2 separate regions of the Homo sapiens genome follow, and region 2 is linked to region 1. The links are contacts of gene promoters, found by promoter capture Hi-C in blood cells and fetal thymus (Javierre and others, 2016). All regions are on one chromosome and are shown on one strand. The core of a region is centred on a gene start or on the middle of the fragment in contact, and the rest is flanking DNA. Distances in the headings are between cores, read along the strand shown.

The links. Contacts are between HindIII fragments. The CHiCAGO score rates a contact against its expected background, and 5 or more counts as called.
Region 2: a contact is called between a fragment that was not itself captured here and the fragment with the promoter of OR13D1 in region 1, in 2 of 17 cell types (M1 macrophages and erythroblasts). The highest score is 5.4, in M1 macrophages.

Annotation. Positions count from the first base shown.
Region 1 is chr9:104,692,153-104,699,697 of GRCh38, reverse strand. It overlaps OR13D1 (olfactory receptor family 13 subfamily D member 1), which reads right to left and starts at 5,180. Exons shown (of 1, transcript NM_001004484.2): 1 at 4,236-5,180. The coding sequence starts at 5,180. The coding sequence ends at 4,236. All of the region lies in intron 1 of LOC107987105 (a long non-coding RNA gene), which reads left to right. The HindIII fragment of the contact is 5,977 bases long and covers 1-5,659 here.
Region 2 is chr9:103,391,752-103,398,744 of GRCh38, reverse strand. No RefSeq gene overlaps it. Among named protein-coding and RNA genes, the nearest start is that of LINC01492, 70 kb to the right of the region's middle. The HindIII fragment of the contact is 1,015 bases long and covers 870-1,884 here.

The DNA.
Region 1 (7,545 bases), core at 3,931-6,430:
TTATGCATTATGGGAATTACCTATGCTTCCATAAAAACTCTAGTTGAAAGAATCTAGTTTATGGGGAAAATAAAACTAGAGATAATACTATTCACTCTGAACATGACAACCTAAAATTACTACAGTTTTTTTTTTTTTTTGAGACGGAGTCTTGCTCTGTCACCCAGGCTGGAGTGCAATGGCACGATCTCGGCTCACTGCAACCTCCGCCTCCTGGGTTCAAGCGATTCTCCCGTCTCAGCCTCCGAAGTTTCTGGGATTACAGGCACGTGCCACCATGCCCCGCTAATTTTTGTATTTTTAGTAGAGACGGGGTTTCACCATGTTGGCCAAGCTGGTCTCAAACTCCTGACCTCGTGATCCGCCCATCTCAGCCTCCCAAAGTGCTGGGATTACAGGCATGAGCCATTGCACCCGGCCTCAGTTGTCTTTTTTTACAAGTATATTCTTTTTCAAATTTCTTCTAAAATGATCAGTCTGAAAAAAGTTTTTATTCTTGACAATAGTATATGCGTTTTCCCTTATAAAAGTAGCCCTCCTTATTGATACATTTAAAAATTTTCACTTAAATGTCTTCGTCTCTGGTACTGTTGATTTGTTTTTTAAGGTGTGAGTATATTTCTCCCAATTAAGAATTATTTATAGTTTTGAGACATTTGAGCTTTTTCTTTTCTTTCCTTCCTTTCTCTCTCTTTCTTTCTTTTCTTCCCCCCTTCCCTTCCCTCCCCTTCCCTCCCCTCCCCTCCCCTCCCCTCCCCTCCCCTCCCCTCCCCTCCCCTCCCCTTTCCTTTCCTTTCTTTCCTTCCTTCTTTCTTTCAACTCTGCTTTGTCGCCCAGGCTGGATTGCGGTGGCACGATCTTGGCTCACTGCAACCTCCGCCTCCCAGGTTCAAGCGATTCTCCTGCCTCAGCCTCCTGAGTAGCTGGGACTACAGGCTTGTGTCAACACGCCCGGCTAATTTTTTGTATTTTTAGTAGACACGGGGTTTCACCGTGTTAGCCAGGATGGTCTCAATTTCCTGACCTCGTGGTCTGCCCGCCTCGGCCTCCCAAAGTACTGGGATTACAGGTATGAGCCACTGCGCCTGGCCCAAAATTTGTGTTATGTCGAGTTTAACCTTTTTAACATTATGTGTAAGAGATATTTGGAATCAAAAATCAAATATTCTTTCAAGGATGTTACATTTGTAAATGTTTTTAGAGTCTGGTAATACTATCTTCTACTTTTTCAAGCAGTTACTACATTAATAATTGGTATTTCACTGAATTATTTCCATCAGAGGGTATGCCAAATGGAGTTTCCCAAGAAGTAGTATGTTAGTGTAAAATAGGAAACTTACTGCCTGGACCTTAATCAAGAAGGGACTCTGTACAGCAGTAGAATTATATTACTATCCTCTCTTCAACCAACAGCACAATAGAAAACATTGACTATGATAGAGTCTGCAAAAAAGATAACAAGCACTTAGATAAATTTTGAGACAGAAATTTATTCTGACGTTTTAAAAAGAGAAGGGAAAAATGAAACAAAAGTACTTCCATAGCAATGGACAACATGTATGCAGTAATTTGCAGTACACTCTGAAACAAACCTTCACAAAAATCAATTAATAAAGCATATATTAAAATTGTCTTTGTATTTTCAAATGCAATGACAAATGACTTTCTCCAGACAAATCAAATTCCTGCAAGATGTAGTGACTGATTTCAGCACAGACATTATGGAATGAGAAGCTCATGTCAACATATAAGAGAATCAACAGAACCTGGATTGAAAAGTGTGTGGAAAGAAGATAGTACTGGGAATGTATAGAATATAGTCCTTTAACTACTGGTCTTAGGGTTCCTGCTAGTTATTTAGTCAGAAGGAAGCATACATTTATGTATGAATATACTCCAAAGTAAGTTCATAATATTGCTTTACAGAATGCTTTTTCACATCCAATGCCTATGTATTAGCTATTATTTGCCTCTCATTGATCTACACACTGGGAAAAGATAGCAATAGATAAGGAGAAGTACCTGCTTACAAGGAACTTTTCCTGTAGAAAATAGACAATAAATCCATAGAAAAGATAAATACATACAGCATTTTAAAGGAGTGAAATGCTGTGGAAAAAAAAACATGTTACAACTTTTATAAGACGAATATATTAGACATTTATGCAAAAACTTATTTGAAATGACAGAGGGAACCCTTGGAAGATCGAGGGGAGGAGTGTCCCAGATAGAAGGAATAATAAAGGCAAAGGCTTTGGCATATTTGAGAAACAAGAAGGTAGTGAAATGAGAGTGTAATGAGAGTCTAATGAATATCGTTAGGTGGTAGGAAATGAAGTGGTAAAACTAGGTGGGGTTAAGATTATATGGGTCTGGTATACCATGGTAAGGAATTTAAAACATTTTAAAATCTCTCTCTCACTTTTTTGAGATGGGATCTCATTATGTTGCCCAGGCTGGTTTCGAACTCCTGGGCTCAAGCAGTCTTCCCACTTCAGCCTCCAAAGCAGCTTGGATTACAGGCATGCACCACCATACCAGGCTTTAAAAATTTTTATCCTGTAGATTAATAGATTAGTTATTTTTGTTTTTGTCAAATTCTGAGTTCCATATAATCTAGGAATTATATCTCTGTATAACTGAATTAAGTGAGCCCTGTCTAATCTATTACAGTTATGATTCTGGTCCCCAGAGTGGACAAAATCAGATATGCAACACCCTTAAGGGAATTCTGCCTTAATTTGGCTTATTACTACTTATATGTATTTATATATAACACAGTAATCTACCATAATCCACCAAATGACAATGTTTATTAAACTAAAAAACATTATGTAGAAAAGCAAAATGCAGTTATTTCAAGTACCAATATATTGATTGAAGCACAGAGAAAAATGGTAAGAAGTCCATAAATCAATTTGATGAAAAATATGAGAACAAAAAATTAGAAACGTAAATGCTCCATAGAAATAATTGGGGAGATGACTGAAATGCCTGAAGTAATGCAGAATAGAGGTTAGATTATTGTAATTTAGTTATTAATGAGAAAGGGAACTCCTACAGGCTGGAGAACTTGGAACCTCTCAGATTACATACCTTGTTATTATTATTATTGCCTTAAAATGTAAGAGGATGGAGAGGAAGATAGGACAAAGGAATATATTAGGATTTATTTTGTCGTATGTGGTAAAATCCAGGTCAAATTAGTTTTTCATAAAATGCTAATTTGACTCATAAATAAAATCTGCAACGGTGAATCTGGCTTTAGCTACAGCTGCGTTCAAGAGTTAAAGTGACACCATCAAGCACACTCTGTATCTCAGCTCTGCTTTCATTCTCATGCTGTCCTCACATATTGGCAATGGTTGCCAGTAGGAATTCTGAGTTAACATTCTACCAGTTTAGACACCATTTCAAAAAACAGTGTGTCTTTCTGACAAAGGCAGCATTCCTGGGATGGAGTCTAATTAGTATGGCTCGGGTCACATCCTGCACTATACCAATCACTATGACTAGAGGAATTAGACATCCTTTCTTTCTTTCTTTCTTTCTTTCTTTCTTTCTTTCTTTCTTTCTTTCTTTCTTTCTTTTTTTTTTTTTTTTTTGCCAAGACCTCTTCCATGCTTATCTTTATTTTCAGAGGTTTGGGTCAGCCCCACCATGTACAACATAGACTGAGAGTGGGGGACTTTGGTTCATTAAAAGAAAAATATACATCTTTCTATTAATATATATTATGCAGATCTGTCAATTGGGTGGCAATATTGTGCAGGGATGCTGCACAACAACTATATATCCACTTCAAAGTGACTGAGAAAGGAGACAACAGAAAAGAAAGGAAGAGAAAGAAAATATACGGAGGAGAGGAGAGAGAGTAGCAGAATAGAGAGAGAGGACAAAATCAGAGGAGTAGAGAGAGACACACACATGGCAGGAGAGAGAAGAAAGAGAGACAGACAGAGAGAGAGACTGAGTGAGAGAGAGAGATTCATTTTAATGGACAGCATCAATATTTTTATAGGGCCAGTTTGCAGAACTGCTTACAGCTACAAACCCAGCAGACAAGGCACTATTAAGAAGGTTACATGAGCATGAAAATTCTACGTTGAAAAGAATGGGAATCTAATAGTTGGTTTTGCAAACACACAAGCTCTCGTGACAGTAGGTTTTGCAGTATCTAAATACAAAAGACAAGCTCTCTTGCCCCATTGAGGATATCGCATGCCCAAGGTTTTTCACATTTTCAATAAATGCAGATGTCTGCTCAGGACTTTCTTTACAGCCTCTTTGACCTCTTTATTCCTGAGGCTATAGATGATGGGATTTAACATTGGGCTTACCACTCCATAAGACAGCCCAATAATCTCATCAGATGTATTAGTGTTCTTTGACTTGGGTTTCATGTACATAAAAAGGGCTGAACCGTAGAATAAGATGACCACAATCGAGTGCGCTGAACAGGTAGAGAAGGCTTTCTTTCTTCCCTCAGCACAATTAATTCTCAGGATGGAAGAGAGAATAAACACATAGGAGATGAAAATTAACAGTAGAAGAATCACCAGTGAAACAATATTTGTCACTGTCATGATAAGCACATTGATGGTGATATCTGAACAAACAAGTTTTAGAAGGGCCAAAATTTCACAGGTAATATGATCAATGACATTATTCCCACAGAAAGGCAACATCATTGTCAGAACTGTTTGCAATAGGGAGGTCAGACAGCCTATGATCCAGGACCATGCAGCCATTTGCACATACAGCACTCCGTTCATGATGATGGAGTACCTCAGTGGGTTGCAGATGGCCACATAGTGGTCATAGGCCATCACAGCCAGGAGGACACACTCAGTGGAGCCCAAGCCAAGGGACACAACCATCTGCAGAGCACAGCCAATGAAGGAGATGGATTTTCTCTCAGACATAAATATAATAAGCATTGGAGGAATGGATGAGGATGTGTAACAGATGTCCAAGAATGAGAGGTTTCCAAGAAAGAAATACATGGGAGTATGGAGGCGAGAATCCAAGATGGTGATGATAATGAGGAGGCTATTTCCCAGGAGGATTATCATGTACATGATGAGGCAGAGCAGGAACAGAAAAAGCTGGAGCTCTGGATATTGGGAAAGCCCCACCAGAAAGAATTCAGTCATGGCAGAGTAATTTCTTGTCTCCATGTGTTCTAGGTCACCTGCCTGCTGGGTAGTATAGAAAAGGACATGATTCAGGTAAATTGAAATGTTTGATACATCAAAATCTGTAAATCTGTACATCTACAAATTTTCAATACAAATTTGCTTCCGATATTGTGTTTGATTCTTAGAATACTCTCAGTAAGCAAAACAGTATGGATATTGTACTAGTTTTATTGATTATGAAAATTGAGACATTGAGAAACCCAATATATCTTAGGACTACACAGCAGCACATTCAAAGCTACCAATACTGCCAGAATTATTCTGGGAAGTGTCAAATAAAGTTTAGGAACATGCTGCTTTCAAATGTAGAAAGAGATTTTGAACTTAAAGCTGTTTTTTTGATGAAGCTGGCCTCTATTTAAAAGATTTTATAGACTGCCAGTGACATATCATTTAACCTGGATGTAGCTTTGGTAAGTTGTTTATTTTTCTGAGTTGCAGATAGTTCATAGTAAGCTTGGAAAAAGCAATAATTATTTCTTAGAGTATAGTTAGAATTAGATAAAATATTAGGTGCCTAGAACCTAATGGTTCCAACATGGCATATGTGTGTGTGTGTGTGTGTATGCATATATGTAATATAATTATATTTACCTTATACAAGATATAATATTAAATGTATTTTTATACACATGCATTTTATGAATTATAGTATAATATTTAGATCTACCAATCTTAAAAGGGAAAAGTAGATTTAGCTTTTTAAAGGTAAAAGGTTTAAAGTTTGAAACCACACTTGACAGACTGTGAACATTTTTGTTCTCAGTGGGATATTTCATTGCACTTCTTTCAAAAACCTGTTAGGAGTCTGAGAATCATTGGAGGACTGTTCTAGAAGCTTCCAGAGATTAAGGAGTCTAGGTCCCAGCATGTACAGCTTTTTTTCCAGGCCCTGGGATTCTCTCTTCTTAAGTGTAGTATTACTGCCATTTTACAAAGTAGGAAACAGAGACAAAGAAAAGTTTAAGTAACTTTCTCAAGGTCATACAGATAGTAAATACTAAAGCCAGAATTCAATATCTAGCCATCTGGCTATAGAATCAGCCCTTTTACCCACCATACACTACTCTCTCTCAGTGGTTACTACACAGATTCCACGCAAGAGAAGACTATTACAAAAATGTATCTTCTGTTGGGGTACAGTGAGACAGCAAACATCATTTACTTGTGATTCTGATCATATGTGATGTGATGGAGAACTCTGAAGGCTGGACCACTTACTTTTTCCTGTAGCTTTTGATTGTGGTCTGCTCAGTTTTCTTTTCTTTTCTCTCGCTGTTTTTTTTTTTTTTTTTTTTTTTTAAGACGGAATCTTGCTCTGTTGCTTGGGCTGGAGTGCAATGGCGCGATCTCAGCTCACTGCAACCTCCACCTCCCACATTCAAGCGATTCTCCTGCCTCAGCCTCCCGAGTAGCTGAGATTACTGGCATGCTCCACTACACCTGGCTAATTTTTGTATTTTTAGTAGAGACGGGGTTCATATCATATTGGCCAGGCTGGTGTCGAACTCCTGGCCTCAAGTGATCCTCCCACCTTGGCCTCCCAAACTGCTAGGATTACAGGCATGAGCCACCCTGCCTGGTCTGCTCAGTTTTCTATGTGTAGAAGGCGATTTCACAGCTATGAAAAAAAGCATGATCAAGAATAATGATACAAAAGTCCTTTTCATCACCTTTGCCTTTTTCTTTTCTTTCTTTGTTTTTCTTTTGAGACAGAGTCTCACTCTGTTGCCCAGGTTGGAGTGCAGTGGTGTAATCTCAGCTCACTGCAACCTCCGCCTCCCAGGTGCAAGTGGTTCTCCTGCTTCAGCCTCCCAAGTAGTTGGGATTACAGGCGCATACCACCACACCCAGCTAATTTTTGTATTTTTAGTAGAGATGGGATTTCACCATGTTGGCCAGGCTGGTCTTGAATCCCTGACCTCAGGTGATCCACCCTCCTCAGCCTCCCAAAGTGCTGGGATTACAGGTGTGAGCCACCATGCCCAGCCCACCTTTGCCTTTATCAGTAACATATCAAAAATACCACAGCCCCTGCCCTCACTCTGCAAATCTAAATGCAGCATAGAGTCTTTTGAGAAACTACTCCCATTTATAACATTAGTGCCACATCTTTGAAAACTCAATGTGCTCCATTCGTTTCATATTCATTACATTGATATGTCCAAGTATTGTGTTAAGATGTCTTATATAAAGGGCTGTTTCTCATACATTGTTACACTATTACCACAAGAACTATATCTATGCTGGGCTCTCCTTGTGGAATGAGAATATTTCTTACTGATCTTATTCTGACCCTACAACCACACTTTTGCTTTGGCCTTTTCATATCCAGAGACTTTGA
Region 2 (6,993 bases), core at 128-2,627, 1.3 Mb after region 1:
ACCTGGGCATCCCTCCCTTTACAAGACTGGAATGGGAAAGGTGTGGCCTGGTAACTGTGGTTTCTGCCCCACAGAGTCTAGAACCCTAGAAATCCCGGAATAGCTTTGTGATTTGAACGCAGACAGCTTTAGACTAGCCTAACCATTCTGTCCTGCTGCTGGCTGCCAGACACTGAAGACCTTCCAGGTTAGGGCTGTGGGAGCCGGGCAGTTTCCATTGCCACTTGCTGGGCTGAAAACCCTGTCTGGTTTTCTTCTGAGAGGGCTCTGTGGTATGAAAGAAGCACTTCTGCCCCTCTTGAAGAGTTGCTCCAAAGGCCTGAGAGCTGTCCCTGGACTCCAGCCAAAACCAGCGCTTAAGCCCATCTTGGAGAGCCTGGTTATGGACTTGTACCATCCAACCCTGCCTCATATTGTCCTCTCTAGTTCCCTTTGTGTCAGAACCCCGGATGGGGACCCCTGAAAACCCCATGGCCTCACACATCACCTGGGACACACTAGTGCTTCCTCTGATCAACAAAGGTCAAATAAAAATTCCACTACTACCACTGAAACTGCCTCTTGCCTGAAAGCACTATCTACTGACCAGGAGGTCAACCTGCACAACTCATCACAATTTCTGCTGACACTACTGTTCAGCGTTTGGTTGGAATTTACCTGCAAGTGCCACCTACTGTCCCCTAGGGTGAACTGCACGTTCCACTATAATTTCTGCTGACAGAAGTACACAGCACTGTGGAATGACATAATTCTCCTGTGACCTCCACCTCCCTACCTCTGCAGGAGGCAGGGAGCCTGATGACACACATAGTAAAACACTACTACAACATAGAAACAACTAGCATTTGAGAAAACTGTTACACTAAGCTTATCTATACCCAGGAACTCATACAGAGCCTTGGCCCCCTAAAGCAGAAAAAAGCAAAGACAAAGGACCCTATCCAAAATACAAGGCAGACATGCCGCCAAGGGGAAATAAAGCCCATCCAAATGAAAGTAAGTTCAAAACTAATAATTATAGCTTCTCCAGATGAGAAGTAACTAGTGTAAGAACTCCAGCACCATGAAGAAACTAAGGTGTGACACTTCCAAAGGACCATACAAGTTCTCAAACAATGGAGCTTAGCCAAAATGAAAATTATGAAATGACAGATAAGGAATTCAAAATATGGATTAGAAATAAGTTCAATGAGATGAAAGAGAACATTTAAAAACAACAAAAAGAAATAGAAAAAAATTCAGGAGATGAAGGACAAGATAGATATATTAGGAAAAAAAGAATTTCTGAAAATGAAAAATTAACTGAAGAAATGTCAAAATGCATTTCAATCCTTTAGCAAGACTAGATCAAGAAGAAGAAAAAATTTCAGAGCTCAAATACAAGTCTTTTGAAATAACGCAGCCAAAAATAAAAAAATAATTGAAAAAAATTAAGAAAGCCTTGGAGAGATATGGGATTAAGGGATTACGTAAAGGGTCAAAATCTATGACTTATAGGCATTCCTGAGGGAGAAGAAGTAAAAGTAAGAAGTTTGGGAAACATATTTGAGGGAATACTTAATTACAAGTTTTCTGATCTTGCTGTAGATATAGACATCCAGACACGAGATATTCAGAGAACACCTGAAAGACACTATACAAGAGGAAAATGACCAAAGCATATAATTATCCGACTATCCAAGGTCAAAGTGAAAGGTGAAAGAAAAAGTCTTAAAAGCAGCTACACAGAAGCATTGAATCACATATAAAGGAAATACCATCAGATTAGCAGTGGACTTCTCGGTAGAAACCTTATAAGCCAGAAGAGATTGGGGCTCTATTTTCTTTAGACTGCTTAAAGAAAAACATGCCAGCCAAGAACTTTACATCCTGCCAAACTAAGCTTCATAAATGAAGGAGAAATGAGGTCTATGTCAAACAAGCAAATGCCAAGGGAATTCATCACCACTAGACAAGTCCTACAAGAAACGCTCAAAGAGTTTTAAACATGGTAATGAAAGGACAGTACTTTCCATTGTAAAAGTATACATAACTACAATGCTCAAAACCCTAAAAAGCAGTTATATAATTGAGACTACAAAGCATCTAACTTAAAACACTATGAATGGGGAAAAAACCTCACACATCAATGTTAACTTTGAACATACATGGCCTGAATGCTCCACTTAAAAGATATAGACTAGCAAATTGGATTTTAAAAGAATCCAACCATCTGCTGTCTACAAAAGACCCACTTAAGAGGTAAAGACACTCACAGATTTAAAGCAAAGGAGTGAAAAAAAGATATATCATACAAATGAAAAACAATAATAAGCATTCATAGCTATGCTTATATGGAACAGAATTTAAATCAATAACAGTGAAAAAAGACAAAGAATGCCATTATATAATCCATAAAGGGCCAAATTCAACAAGATGATTTAACTGTTCTAGATATATATGTACCCAATACCAAAGCCCAAAGATTCATAAAATACAAACTACTAGTCCTAAGAAAAGAGGTAGACAACAACACAATAATAATGGGGGCTTCAAGACCCAACTCACAGCATTAGACAGATCATCGAGGCAGAAAAGCAATAAACTCTGGACTTAAACTGGACTCTGGAACAAATGGACCTAATAGATAGCTACAGAACATTCTACCAAACAACCACAGAATAGTCATTTTTCTAATTTGTGCATGGAACATTCTCCAAAATAGACCATATTCTTGGACATAAAGCAAGTCTCAATTTTTTTTTAAATTTGAAATAATATCAAGTATCTTCTTTGACCACAGTGGAATAAAATTAAAAGTCAAAACAGAGAGGAACTCTCAAAACTACACAAGTACGTGGAAACTCAAAAACTTGCTCTTGAATGACCTTTGGGTAAGCAGGCAAAATTAAGGCAGAAATAAAAATATTTTTGGAAACAAATGAAAATAGAGACACAATATACCAAAACCTCTGGAATACATCATAAGCAGTGTTAAATGGAAAGCTAATACTGCTAAATGTCTACCTCAAAAAGAAAAAGTTCTCAAATTAACAACCTAACTTTGCACCTCAAGGAACTAGAGAAACAAAAATGAACCAAACACAAAGCTAACAGAATAAAAAAACAACAAATATCAGTGCAAAACTAAATGAGATTGAGACCCCAAAAATAATGCAAAATAACAACTAAATGAAAAATTGTTTCCTTGAAATGATAAACAAAATTAATAGTCAGCTAGCTAGATTAACCAAGCAAAAAAGATAGAATATTCAAATAAGCACAATCAGTAATGATAAAGGTAACATTACAACTGATACCAAGAAAATACTAAAGATCATCAGAGACAACTATGAGCATTCTATGTGCACGAACTAGAAAGGCATGAGAAAATAGATAAATTTCTGGAAACATACAACTTCCCAAGATTGAAGCAGGTCCAAATAGAAACCCTGAGCAAACCAATAATGAATAATGAAAATGAATCAGTAATAAATAATCTCCTAATAAAAAAAGCTTAGGGCTGGGGGCATTTATAGCTAAATTTTACCCAACACACCAAGAAGAGCTGATACCAATTCTGCTGAAATTATTCAAAAAAATTGAGGAGGAGGGATGCCTCCCTAACTCATTCTATGAAACCAATAACACCCTGATACCAAAACCAGGCAAAGAGACAACAGAAAAAGAAAACTACAGCCCAATTTTGCTAGTAAACATAGATGTAAAAATTCACAACAAAATACTAGCAAACTGAATCCAACCATATGTCAGAAAGATAATCCATCACAATCAAGTGGGTTTTATTCCAGAGATACAAGGATGGCCCAGCATATGAGAAAATGTGAAATTTACTACATAAAGAGAATTAAGAGCATAAACCACATGATCATTTCAATAAATGCAGAAAAAGTATTCAATGAAACCCAACATTGCTTCATTGTAAAAACTCTCAACAAATGAGGCATCAAAGAAACATAACTCAAGATAACAAAAGCCTTATATGATAATCCACAGCCAACATCATACCAAATGGGGAAAAGTTGAAAGCACCTCACTCCCAAGAACTGGAACAAGATAAGGATATCTTATTCTCAACACTCCTATTCAACATCCTAGGACTGCCAAGTCCTAGCCAGAGCAATCAGGCAAGAAAAAATAATAATAATAAAAGGCATCCAAAATGGAAAAATGGAAGTCAAATGATCTGTTCTCTGATGACATGACCTTATATTTAGAAATCCCTAAAGAATGCTGCAAAAGACTAGACTCGATAAATGACTTCAGTAAAATTTCAGACTACAACATCAACATGCAAAAATCAGTAGTTTCCATATACACCAATAATATTCAAGCTGAGAACCAAATCAACAACTCAATTTTATTTATAATAGCCACAAGTTATAAAAATAGCTAGGAATACATTTAATCGAGGAGGTGAAAGATCTCTATAAGGAGAACTACAAATCACTGATGATAGAAAGATATAGATGACATGAACAAATGGAAAAACTTCCCCTCATGTATTGGAAAATCAAAATCATTAAAATGACCTCACTGCTTAAAGCAATCTACAGATTCAACACAAATCTGATTAAATTACCACGTCATTCTTCACAGAATTAGAAAAAATACTATCCTAAAAGTCATGTGGAAACAAAAAGGAACCCAAAGAGCCAAAGCAATTGTAAGCAAAAAGAACAAAGCTGAACATATCACATTTTATGACTGCAAATTGTACTACAATGCTGTATATGATGGTTAGTATTTAGTGTCAAGTTGATTGGATTGAAGAATGCAAAGTATTATTCCTGGGTGTGTCTGTGAGGGTGTTGCCAAAAGAGGTTAACATTTGAGTCAGTGGACTAGGAGAGGCAGACCCACCCTCAATCTGGGTGGGTACCATCTAATCAGCTACCAGTATGGCTAGGATAAAAGCAGGCAGAGGAACATGGAAGGACTAGACTGGCTAAGTTTTCTGGCCTCCATCTTTCTCCCATGCTGAATGCTTCCTGCTCTCAAACATCAGACTCCAAGTTCTTCAGCTTTTGGACTCTGGACATACACCAGTGGTTTGCCAGTGGCTCTGGTGCCTTCAGCCACAGACTGAAGGCTGCACTGTCAGCGTCCCTAGTTTTGAGGTTTTGGAACTCGGACTGGCTTCCTTGCTACTCGGCTTGCAGACAGCCTATTTTGTGACTTCACCTTGTGATGACATGAGTCAATACTCCTTAATATACTCCCTTTCATATATACATCTATCCCATTAGTCCTGTTCCTCTAGAGAACCCTGACTAATACACTGTCATAACCAAAACAGCATGTTACTAGTACAAAAATAGACTCATAAATAATGGAACATATTAGAGTACCTAGAAACAAAATCATATACCTCCATCCAATTTACCTTTCAGGAAGTCAACAAAAATATATGATGTGGAAAGTTTATTCTAGTCAATATATGGTGCTGGGAAAATTGGATAGCAGAAGAAATAAAAATAGATCTCTATTTCTCACTACATACAAAAATAAACTCAAAATTGATTAAATACTTAAATGTATAACTTGAAACTATAAGAATTATAGAAGAAATCCTAGGAAACACTCTTCAGGACATTGGTCTAGGAAAAGAATATATGCTTAACAGCTCAACGGCAAATGCAACAGAAGCAAAAATAGACAAATTGTACTTAATTAAAATAAAAACCACCTGCACAGCAGAAGAAATAATCAACAGAGTGAGCAACCTACAGAATGGGAGAGAGTATTCGCAAACTGTACATCCAGCAAAAAACACCCAGAATCTACATGGAACTGAAACAGCTCAACCAGAAAAAGAAAAAAAAAAATTAAGCCCATTAAAAAGTGAGCAAAAGATAAAAACAGACATTTTTCAACATAAGATATACAAATGGCCAACAAACATGAAAAAATGCTCAACATCACTAATAATAGGAAAAATTCAAATTAAAACTGCAATGAGATACCATCTTACACCATTCAGAACAACTGTTATTAAAAAGTTAAAGAAAAAAAAACAGATGTTGGTGAGGATGCAGAGAGAAGCAAATGCTCATACCCTGTTGGTGGTAATGTAAATTAGTATAACCTCTGTATTAGTCTGTCCTCACATTGCTAATAAAGACATACCTGAGACTGGGTAATTTATAAAGTAAAAGAGGTTTAATGGACTCATAGTTCCACATGGCTGGGGAAGCCTCACAATCATTGTGGAAGGTGGAAGAGTAGCAAAGGCACATCTTACATGGCAGCAGGCAAGAGAGCATGTGCAGGGTAACTGTCCTTTATAAAACCATTAGATATCCCGAAACTTATTCACTGTCATGAGAACAGCATGGGAAAAACCCACCCCCTTGATTCAATTACCTCCCACCAGGTCCCTCCCACAACATGTGGGGATTATGGGGGCTACAATTCAAGATGAGATTTGGGTGGGGACACAACCAAACTATATCAACCTCTAGAGAAAACAGCATGGAGATTTCTCAAAGCACTAAAAGTGGAACTCCCATTTGACCCAGCAATCCCACTACTGGGTATCCACCCAAAGGAAAAAACATATTAAAAAAAGACAACTACACTTGTATATTTATTGCAGCACTACATTAAATAGCAAAGTCATGGAATCAACCTAACTGTCAATTGATGGATGATTGGATAAAGAAAATTTAGCATGCATACCATGGAATACCATGCAGCCATAAAAAAGAACAAAATCACATCTTTTGCAGCAATATGCATAGAGCTGGAAGCCATTATCCTAAGTGAAATAAGTTATAAACAAAAAACAAAATAGTGCATGTTCTTATTTAAAACTGGGTACTAAATAAGGGGTACACATGGACATCCACAAGGATATAATAGACTGAGGACTCGAAAAGTGAGGAAGAGGGAAGTGGGGTCAAGGTTGAAAAATTACCTATTCAGTATAATGTTCATTATTCAGGTGACAGATACACTAAAAGCTGAAACCTTACTATTACACAATATATA